Linked DNA regions of Homo sapiens: region 2 is linked to region 1. Evidence: promoter capture Hi-C in 16 types of primary human blood cells and fetal thymus (Javierre and others, 2016). All regions are on one chromosome and are shown on one strand. Each heading gives the region's core, a stretch centred on a gene start or on the middle of the fragment in contact. The rest is flanking DNA. Distances are from core to core; before and after follow the strand shown.

What was found. The method cuts DNA at HindIII sites, captures the fragments that hold promoters and counts their contacts. A CHiCAGO score of 5 or more calls a contact.
Region 2: a contact is called between a fragment that was not itself captured here and the fragment with the promoter of SPATA21 in region 1, in 1 of 17 cell types (endothelial precursors). The highest score is 6.7, in endothelial precursors.

Annotation. Positions count from the first base shown.
Region 1 is chr1:16,434,732-16,438,870 of GRCh38, forward strand. SPATA21 (spermatogenesis associated 21) reads right to left here and starts at 2,693. Exons shown (of 13, transcript NM_198546.1): 1 at 2,397-2,693. RefSeq lists a silencer at 3,423-3,593. The HindIII fragment of the contact is 2,188 bases long and covers 2,357-4,139 here.
Region 2 is chr1:16,398,469-16,402,878 of GRCh38, forward strand. SPATA21 (spermatogenesis associated 21) reads right to left here. Exons shown (of 13, transcript NM_198546.1): 11 at 2,252-2,424; 12 at 876-1,053; 13 at 175-354. The coding sequence ends at 297. Among named protein-coding and RNA genes, the nearest start is that of SZRD1, 33 kb to the left of the region's middle. RefSeq lists a silencer at 2,947-3,122. The HindIII fragment of the contact is 1,153 bases long and covers 1,188-2,340 here.

The DNA.
Region 1 (4,139 bases), core at 1,443-3,942:
TTAGCTTTTGAGTAATTGCCAGACTTTCTCAAAGTGGCTGTATCATTTTACCTTCTTACCAGCAGCATATGACTGCTCCAATTTTTCTGCATCCTCTCCAACACTTGTTATTATCTGTCTTATTTATTTATTTATTTATTTTTTGAGACAGGGTCTTCCTTTATCACCCAGGATGGAGTGCAGTGGTATGACCATAGCTCACTGCAACCTCCAACTCTGGGGTTCAAGGGATCCTCCCACCTTAGCCTCCTGAGTAGCTGAGACTACAAGTGCACACCACCACACCTGGCTAATTTTCAAATATTTTGTAGATGGGAATCTCACTATGTTGTCCAGGCTGGTCTTGAACTCCTCAGCTCAAGGGATCCTCCCGCCTCAGCCTCCCAGTGTTTTGGGATTACAGGTGTGAGCCACTGTACCGCCTTACTTGTCTTTTTTATCATAGCTATCCTAGTGGATGTGAGTGTAAAGTGTTATCTCATTCTGATTTTGATTTGCATTTCCCCAATGGCCGATAATGTTGGACATCTTCATGTGCTTATTGGCCATTTGTCTATCTTCTTTGGAAAAATGTTTATTCAGAGCCTTCGTCCTTTTTTTTTTGAGATGGAGTCTCGCTCTGTCACCCAGGGTGGAGTGCAGTGGCCTAGTTCCAGCTCACTGCAACCTCCGTCTCCCGTGTCCATGCAATTCTCCTGCTTCAGCCTCCCTAGTAGCTGGGATTACAGGTGTGTGCCACCACACCAGACTAATTTTTGTATTTTTAGTAGAGACGCGGTTTTGCCATCTTGACCAGGCTGGTCTCAAACCCCTGACCTCAGGTGATCTGCCCACCTCAGCCTTCCAAAGTACTGGGATTACAGGTGTGAGCCACCATGCCCGGCCCCCCCCTTTTTTTTTTTTCAGACAGGGTCTTACTCTGTCCACAGGCTGGACTGCAGTGGCATGAACGTGGCTCACTATAGCCTTGACCTCTTGGGCTCAGGTGATCCTCCCATTTCAGCCTCCCAAAATGCTGGGATTACATGCATGAGTCACAGCACCCAGCCTGCCTCTGTCCATTTATACTGGGTTGTCTTTTTATTATTGCACGGTAAATGTTCTTTATAAATTCTAGATACATGTCCTGAATCATATATATGATCTGCAAAAATTTTCTCCCATTATGTGGATTACATTTTCACCTTTTTGTCTTTTGAAGCACAGAAGTTTTAAATTTTTGTAAAAGTCCCATTTATCGGCCTGGTGCGGTGGCTCACACCTGTAATCCCAGCACTCTGGGAGGCTGAGGCGGGCGGATCATGAGGTCAGGAGTTTGAGACCAGCCTGGCCAGCAAGGTGAAACCCCATCTCTACTAAAGATACAAAAAATTAGCTGAGTGTGGTGGTGCGTGCCTGTAATCCCAGCACTTTGGGAGGCCGAGGCGGGCAGATCACCTGAGGTTGGGAGTTTGAGACCAGCCTGACCAACATGGAGAAACCCCGTCTCTACTAAAAGTACAGAATTAGCCGGGCATGGTGGCACATGCCTGTAATCCCAGCTAGTCAGGAGGCTGAGGCAGGAGAATTGCTTGAACCTGGCAGGTGGAGGGTTGCAGTGAGCCGAGATCGCACCATTGCACTCCAGCCTAGATGACAGGGTGAGACTCTGTCTCAAAAAAAAAAAAAAAAAATACAGATAGGGTGCAGTGTATACTGCTCAGGTGATGGGTGGACCAAAATCTTACAAATCACCACTAAAGAACCTACTCATGCAGGGCAAGGTGGCTCACGCCTGTAATCCCAGAACTTTGGGATGCCAAGGGGGGCAGATCACTCGAGGTCAGGAGTTTGAGATCACCCTGGCTAACATGGTGAAATCCTGTTTCTACTAAAAATACAAAAATTAGCTGGGCATGGTGGTGCCTGCCTGTAATCCTAGGTACTTGGGAGGCTGAGGCAGGAGAATCGCTTGAACCTGGGAGATGGAGGTTGCAGTGAGCAGAGACTGCACCACTACACGCCAGCCTGGGCAACAGAGCAAGACTCCGTCTCAAAAAAAATTACTAATGTAAACAAAAAAAAAACACCAAAAAACAAAAACCTTAGTCATGTAGCCAAATACCACCTGTACCCCAATAACCTATGGAAAAACAAATAAATAAATAAATAAATAAAAAGTTTTGAAATCAGGAAGTGTGAGTCCTCCAACTTTGTTCTTTTTCAAAATTCTTTGGGTATTGAGTGCCCCTTTTATAAGTGGTTTCCTCATCTGAAAAATGGGAGAATTTCTCTTGGAAATATCTATGATGGCAGGAAAATACAGCAGATAAAGATAAGTGGCATATCATATATATGTCTGGAGGCCGTCAGGGAAAGCTTGTTCACCTTACACCCCACCTTGGCCCTGCACCTACCAGAAATCAGCTGGATGAGTCACAGTGAGATTTTCCACCCCTGCTCACCGCCTTGCACATAGGATGGGCTCTGTCTGAGCCTATACTTTGCCTGTTGGCTTGAATTGGATTTGTTTGGTATACAGGGCAGTTAAACTGGGAATAGATGGCAGGTCCAATTATTCTCAGCAGCAGAGGTTTAGGAATGCATTTCAGGAATATCCAGCCATGTGGTTAGGGTTTGAGAATAAGGCAAGGGGCTGTGTGACCTCCAACTACTGGACAGTGTCATTTCCCCCAGCTTGTCACTGGTTCAGTGGCCCCCATTACACAATGAAGATAACAATCGTTGCCTTGCCAACCTCACAGTGATTATTGGGCCAGGGTACTCTCTCCCAGAAAGCCTTCCCTGACTCTCCCCAGACTGTGTGGGGTTTCTTCTCTTTGCTCCCACAGGCCCCTGTGAATTTGCTTCATTACAGTACCTTTCATTCTGCTTTGCCAATGACTGCTTTTCTCTCTGTCTCCTCCAGTCTGCGAGCTCCAGGATGGTAGGAGCTGGATTGGCCACATCCCAGTGACCCCAGTACTCAGCACCTGGCATAGGGTATGTGCTCGATGCCTGTCTTTGTTAGACTGAACAGAACTGAAAGTGCTCTGAATGGCTGGGTGCGGTGGCTCACACCTGTAATCCCAGCACTTTGGGAGGCCGAGGTGGGTGGATCACTTGAGGTCGAGTTATAGACCAGCCTGGCCAACATGGTGAAACCCCGTCTCTACTAAAAATACAAAAATTAGCCAGGCATGGTGGCGCATGCCTGTAATCCCAGCTACTTAGGAGGCTGAGGCACGAGAATCACTTGAACCTGGGAGGCAGAAGTTGCAGTGAGCTGAGATCATGCCACTGTCTTCCAGCCTGGGTGGTAGAGTGAGACTTAGTCTCAAAAAAAAAAAAATTGGAAAATAAGGCCAGGTATGGTGGCTCATGCCTATAATCCTAGCACTTTGGAAGGCTGAGGCAGGAGGATCTCTTGAAGACAGGAATTCAAGACCAGCCTGGGCAACATAGCAAGACCCCCGTCTCTACAAAAAGTAAGAAAAATAGCAGGGTAGGGTGGTGTGTGCCTGTAGGCCCAGCTACTCAAAAGGTTGAGGCAGGAGGATCCCTTGAGCCCGGGAATTTGAGGCTGCAGTGAGTGATGATCGCACCATTGCACTCCAGTGTGGGGTGACAGAGAGAGAAAGAAAGAGAGAGACCCTGTCTAAAAAAAAAAAAAAAAAGAAAAGAAAAAGAAAAGAAAAGAAAAGAAAAATAACCAATATTTGCAAAAATGTGAAGAAATTGAAACCCTTGTGAACGTAAATGGTGCTGCTGCTGTGGAAGACAGTTTGGAGGCTCCTCAAAAAGGTGAGCAAGGCCGGACATGGTGGTTCACACCTGTAGTCCCAGCTACTTGGGAGGCTGAGTTGGGAGGATCACTTGAGCCTGGGAGGTTGAGGCTGCAGTGAGCCATGATCATGCCAGTGCTTTCCAGCCTGGGCAACAGAGTGAGATGCTGTTTCAAACAAAACAAAACAAAACAAAACCACTAAACATAGCATTATTGTATAACTCAGCAGTTTCACTCCTATGTATACACTCAAGAAAATGGAAAACAGGACTAGAACAAGTGTTTGAACACCAATGCTCATAGTAGCCCGATTCCCAATACCAAAAGGTGATAACATCCCAATTGTTGACAGATGAATGGATAAACAAAATAT
Region 2 (4,410 bases), core at 514-3,013, 37 kb before region 1:
AGAGGCCTAGCCCTGTGCTTTGAGAAGGCACAGAAGGTCAAGACTGCACGCAGGGGCACCTGTAGCAGAAATCCCAACCCCGCGCAGGGCTTTGAGGTGGAACCCTGCACTCTGAGAGCCCAGTGGTGGCTGGGTGACAACTTGAGGGCCTTTCTTGGCAAGAGGCACAGAGGCTGAAGTTATTGGTGTTTATTAGCTCACCAGGCCACAAAAGCAAATCCCAGCAGCAGCTCCTGCCTGGTGGCCCATCTGTCTACAGGCCTTGAGCAGCTGCCTAGAGTCAGGCCTCCAGAGGGTCAGTGGGTTCGAGCTGGCACAGAGCTGAGCCACTTTCTGCTGTCAGAGTTGTGTTCCCTGGGGAGAGGAGTAGGGCAGAAGGGTGGGAGACATGTGGCCCTTTCCCTATCTGCCAGTATATGAGCCATCTGTGCGTGCCCAAGTGAGGAGAGAGAGGAGGCCTCCCCTCAGAAATGGTGGAACCAGCAGTTGTGCTTAGGGGCCTGATTCCAAGTCCAGAGCTCCCTTCCCCAGCGGCCTGGAGGGGGACTGCTGCAGGAGACGTTCCCCTCTGCCCAGGTGCACAGTCTGCTAGTCCTAATATGGAACCATAGGGAACTCAGAGTACTCAGTTAGGTGCCACTGAGTCCTGGACACAGGAAAGCAGAAGCACTCTGGCTTCAGTGGAACAATCTGCTGGGTACACAGGCCCTCAACAAAGGTTTGTCTTCTTCGCCTTTTACCCTTTCTCCTCCCTGGAGCAAGCAGCCTCTCAGGTATGATCTCTTAGAAAGATGGATTCCCAGGCATTAGGCCAGGGGCCTCTTAAGGAAGAATCTGGAAGGGCCTGGGCTGGGACCCTTTCTCTGGGCACCCACCTGTTTCCTTGAGATCCTGACTGGAAGAAGGGGCTGCGGATGTCAGGATCCAGGCCAGGGGGTGTGCACTGGTCTAGTGCATAGTGGTTGCTCGGCTGCCTACGGACCATCTTCTTGTCCAGCTGTGGGCAGAGCAGGATGCAGGGCACCTGGGCATAGGGGCTCTGCAGGTTGGGAGCTGGTGAAGAAGGAGGCAGAAGGAGGAATGCTTCACAGCATGCCCAGCCTTGGGAAGCAGGCAGATTCAAGTGAAATCCTGGCGTTGCTACATAATGACCTGAGTGGTTTGGGGCAAGTCACTTAACCTCTCTAAGCTTCTGAGCTGGAGGTGATAGTGGTACCCACCTCACAAAAGTTGATGATGAGGATTAAAGGAGAAATATATGCAAAGCACTCAGCTCAGTGCTGCACACAGAATAAGAGCTGGTAACAGCTTAACAAGGAGCAGAGGACTTTGTGATGGGTGTTGGCAAAGTCTAGTAGGCATGCTCTAGAAAGACTGCAAAGCTCCTATCCTGTTACTTGGCACATAGTAGGAGTCTAATAAATGGTACCTGGGGGAAGGGAGGCAGGCTTGCCCAGTGGAAAGAGCATAGATTTTGGGGTCAGACCTGGATATAAACTCCCCTTTCCAAAACACTAGTTAGGGGCATTGGGCAAATTGCTGAACTTTATCAGTTTCATTTTTGTTTTTTTTTTTGAGACAGAGTTTTGCTCTTGTCCCCCAGGCTGGAGTGCAATGGCGTGATCTCGGCTCACTGCAACCTCCATCTCCCGGGTTCAAGCGATTCTCCAGCCTCAGCCTCCAGAGTAGCTGGGATTACCGGTGCTCGCCACCACACCTGGCTAATTTTTTAGAGATGGGGTTTCACCATGTTGGCCAGGATGGTCTCGAACTTCTGACCTCAGGTGATCCGCCCACCTCGGCCTCCCAAAGTGCTGGGATTACAGATGTGAGCCACTGTGCCTGGGTCAGTTTCATTTTTCTAATCTGTAAAATGGGGTAAATACATGATTATGAGTATTAAATTCTAGAGCATCTGCAAAGGGCCTAGCACAGTGGGCACTCAATAAACAGTGAGCTGGGATTGCTAATCTCTACAGCTGTTCTTTCTCAGTCCTGGCTCATGGGACCAACCTGTGCTCAGGCTAAGGCAGGAGGGGAGGAGTCCAACGCAGGAGGCCATTGTCATAGGCCTGGATGGAAAATAGTGATTATCAGCCTGTTTTCTGATGTACACAGTTAAGCCCGAAGTGGGAAACTGGCCTCTCAGCTCCCTTGGCCTGGCTGCCTGAGGGTCCAAGGAAAGGAGACCAGATGGGCAAGAGAGCAAAGCCCCAACCCTAGCCCATCCCACCCTGCCCAGGGCCCTCACCATAGTTCTGCTGCTTCAGCCGGCTCAGGATACTGAGGACCTTTCGTTCTGGAACTTCTGAGCTCTCTTCTTGCTGGGGGTTGTAGGGAAGCTTCTGCAACCGCAGCCGGCCTACGGCCGCTTCCATCTCCTGGGCCTTGCAGGTGCCTTCCTTCAGCTTTTTCTGGTAGTAGCTGGGGAGGCAGTGCCCACCCATCTCAGCCTGGCTGTGTTTAATTCACCCTTCTCCTCCTCAGCCCCTATCTCTCTGGCCAGCTCTGGAGCAGGAACACAAGCCTAGGAGTCAGGAAACCTGGCTTCTAGTCTCAGCTCAGCCCTTTCTGTGACCATGAGCAAGTCACTGCCCTGCTCTGGGCCTCAGTCACCCTGTGTAAAATGGAGGGAAGGGGTTCTCTCTACCCTGTCAATGCAAGTGACTTGACTTCTCTGAGCTTCAAGTTTCCGTTGGGTAAAACAGATCAGACAGTTCACATGCCGTAGGATTAAATAACAAGGATGAATTAACAAGGCCCATCAAGCACGCAGCATGGTGTCTGGCACACGGAAAATGCTTTGTACATGTTACCTATTATTTTGGGGAGGGGCGTGGCGGGGAGACAGAGTCTCACTCTGTTACCCAGGCAGGAGTGCAGTGGCGTGAACATGGCCTCACTACAGCCTTAAACTCCTGGGCTCAACTGATCGTCCTGCCCTAGCCTCTTGAGTAGTTGGGACCATAGGCACCAACCACCACACCCAGCTGATTTTTTTATTTTGTGTAGAGACGTGGTCTCGCTGTGTTGCCCAGGCTGGTCACAAACTCCTTGCCTCAAGCAATCCTTACACCTTGGCCTCCCAAAGTGTTGGGATTACAGGCGTGAGCCACTGCATTACCTATGATTACCTATGATTTTATCACTGATACATTTACTTAGATGTGCAAGTACTTATCTGTGCAATTAACTCCTGCTCATCTTCCAGATTTCAAGTTAAGGACTCTGCTCCAGAAAATCTTCTCTGTCCTATCCCCACCCCTACCCTACAGAGTAGCTAGGCTCCCGCTGGAGGCCCCCTGCAACCTGTAGTTACCCAATTATAGCCCGCAACCCACTTGATTTTCTTAACTCACTGCTTGCCTTTTCCCCCGCTAGACTACAACATCATTCATTTAGTAAGTATTCACTGAATGTTCACTGTGTCCTGGCCACTCTTCTAAGTGATTGGAAAAGAGTAGTGAAAGAGACATCCACACAGGGTCCCTGTATCATAGCCTCAGCCGCACCTCTTACTCCAGCCGTCTACTAACACCGTGGGCCAAGGGTGCCGCAGTGGCCACTTTCACACAGGCTTCAACTAGCTTTGCACAGGGACAACCCTACGGGTCTCACCTCAGGCCTGAGCCTCTTGCTTCCTGCCCCAGGGATTCTCTGACACACGTGCAACCCAGAAGTGTCGGGGAGTTAAGCACCTGTGGGGCACCCTTGCCAAAGGTGTTAGTAGATGAGCTATACAGGCTTTTCCCTTTCTTCTGGCAGTTCTGAGCTGCCATTCTTTTTTTTTTTTTTTTTTTTTTTTTTTTTGAGATGGAGTTTCGCTCTTGTTGCCCAGGCTGGAGTGCAGTGGTGGCATCTCAGCTCACTGCAACCTCCGCCTCCTGGGTTCACGTCATTCTCCTGCCTCAGCCTCCCGAGTAGCTGGGATTACAGGCACCCGCCACCACGCCCAGCTAATTTTTTGTATTTTCAGTAGAGACGAGGTTTCACCATGTTAGCCAGGATGCTCTCGATCTCCTGACCTTGTGATCCGCCCACCGCGGCCTCCCAAAGTGCTGGGATTACAGGCATGAGCCACCATGCCTGGCTTTTCTTTTTTTTAAGAGATGGACTTTCGTTCTGTCACCAAGGCTGGAGTGCAGTGGTGCCATCATGGCTCACTGCAGCCTCGAACTCCCGGGCTCAAGCAGCCCTTCCCCTTGAGCCTCCTGAGTAGCTAGACTACAGGCACACACCATCTTGCCCAGCAACAAAGTGCCTTTTGGCTGGATGTGGTGGCTCATGCCTGTAATCCCAGCACTTTGGGAAGCCGGGCATGGTGGCACGCGCCTGTAATCCCAGCTACTCGGGAAACTGAGGTGGGAGGATTGATTGAGCCCAGGAGGTCAAGGCTGCAGTGAGTCGTAA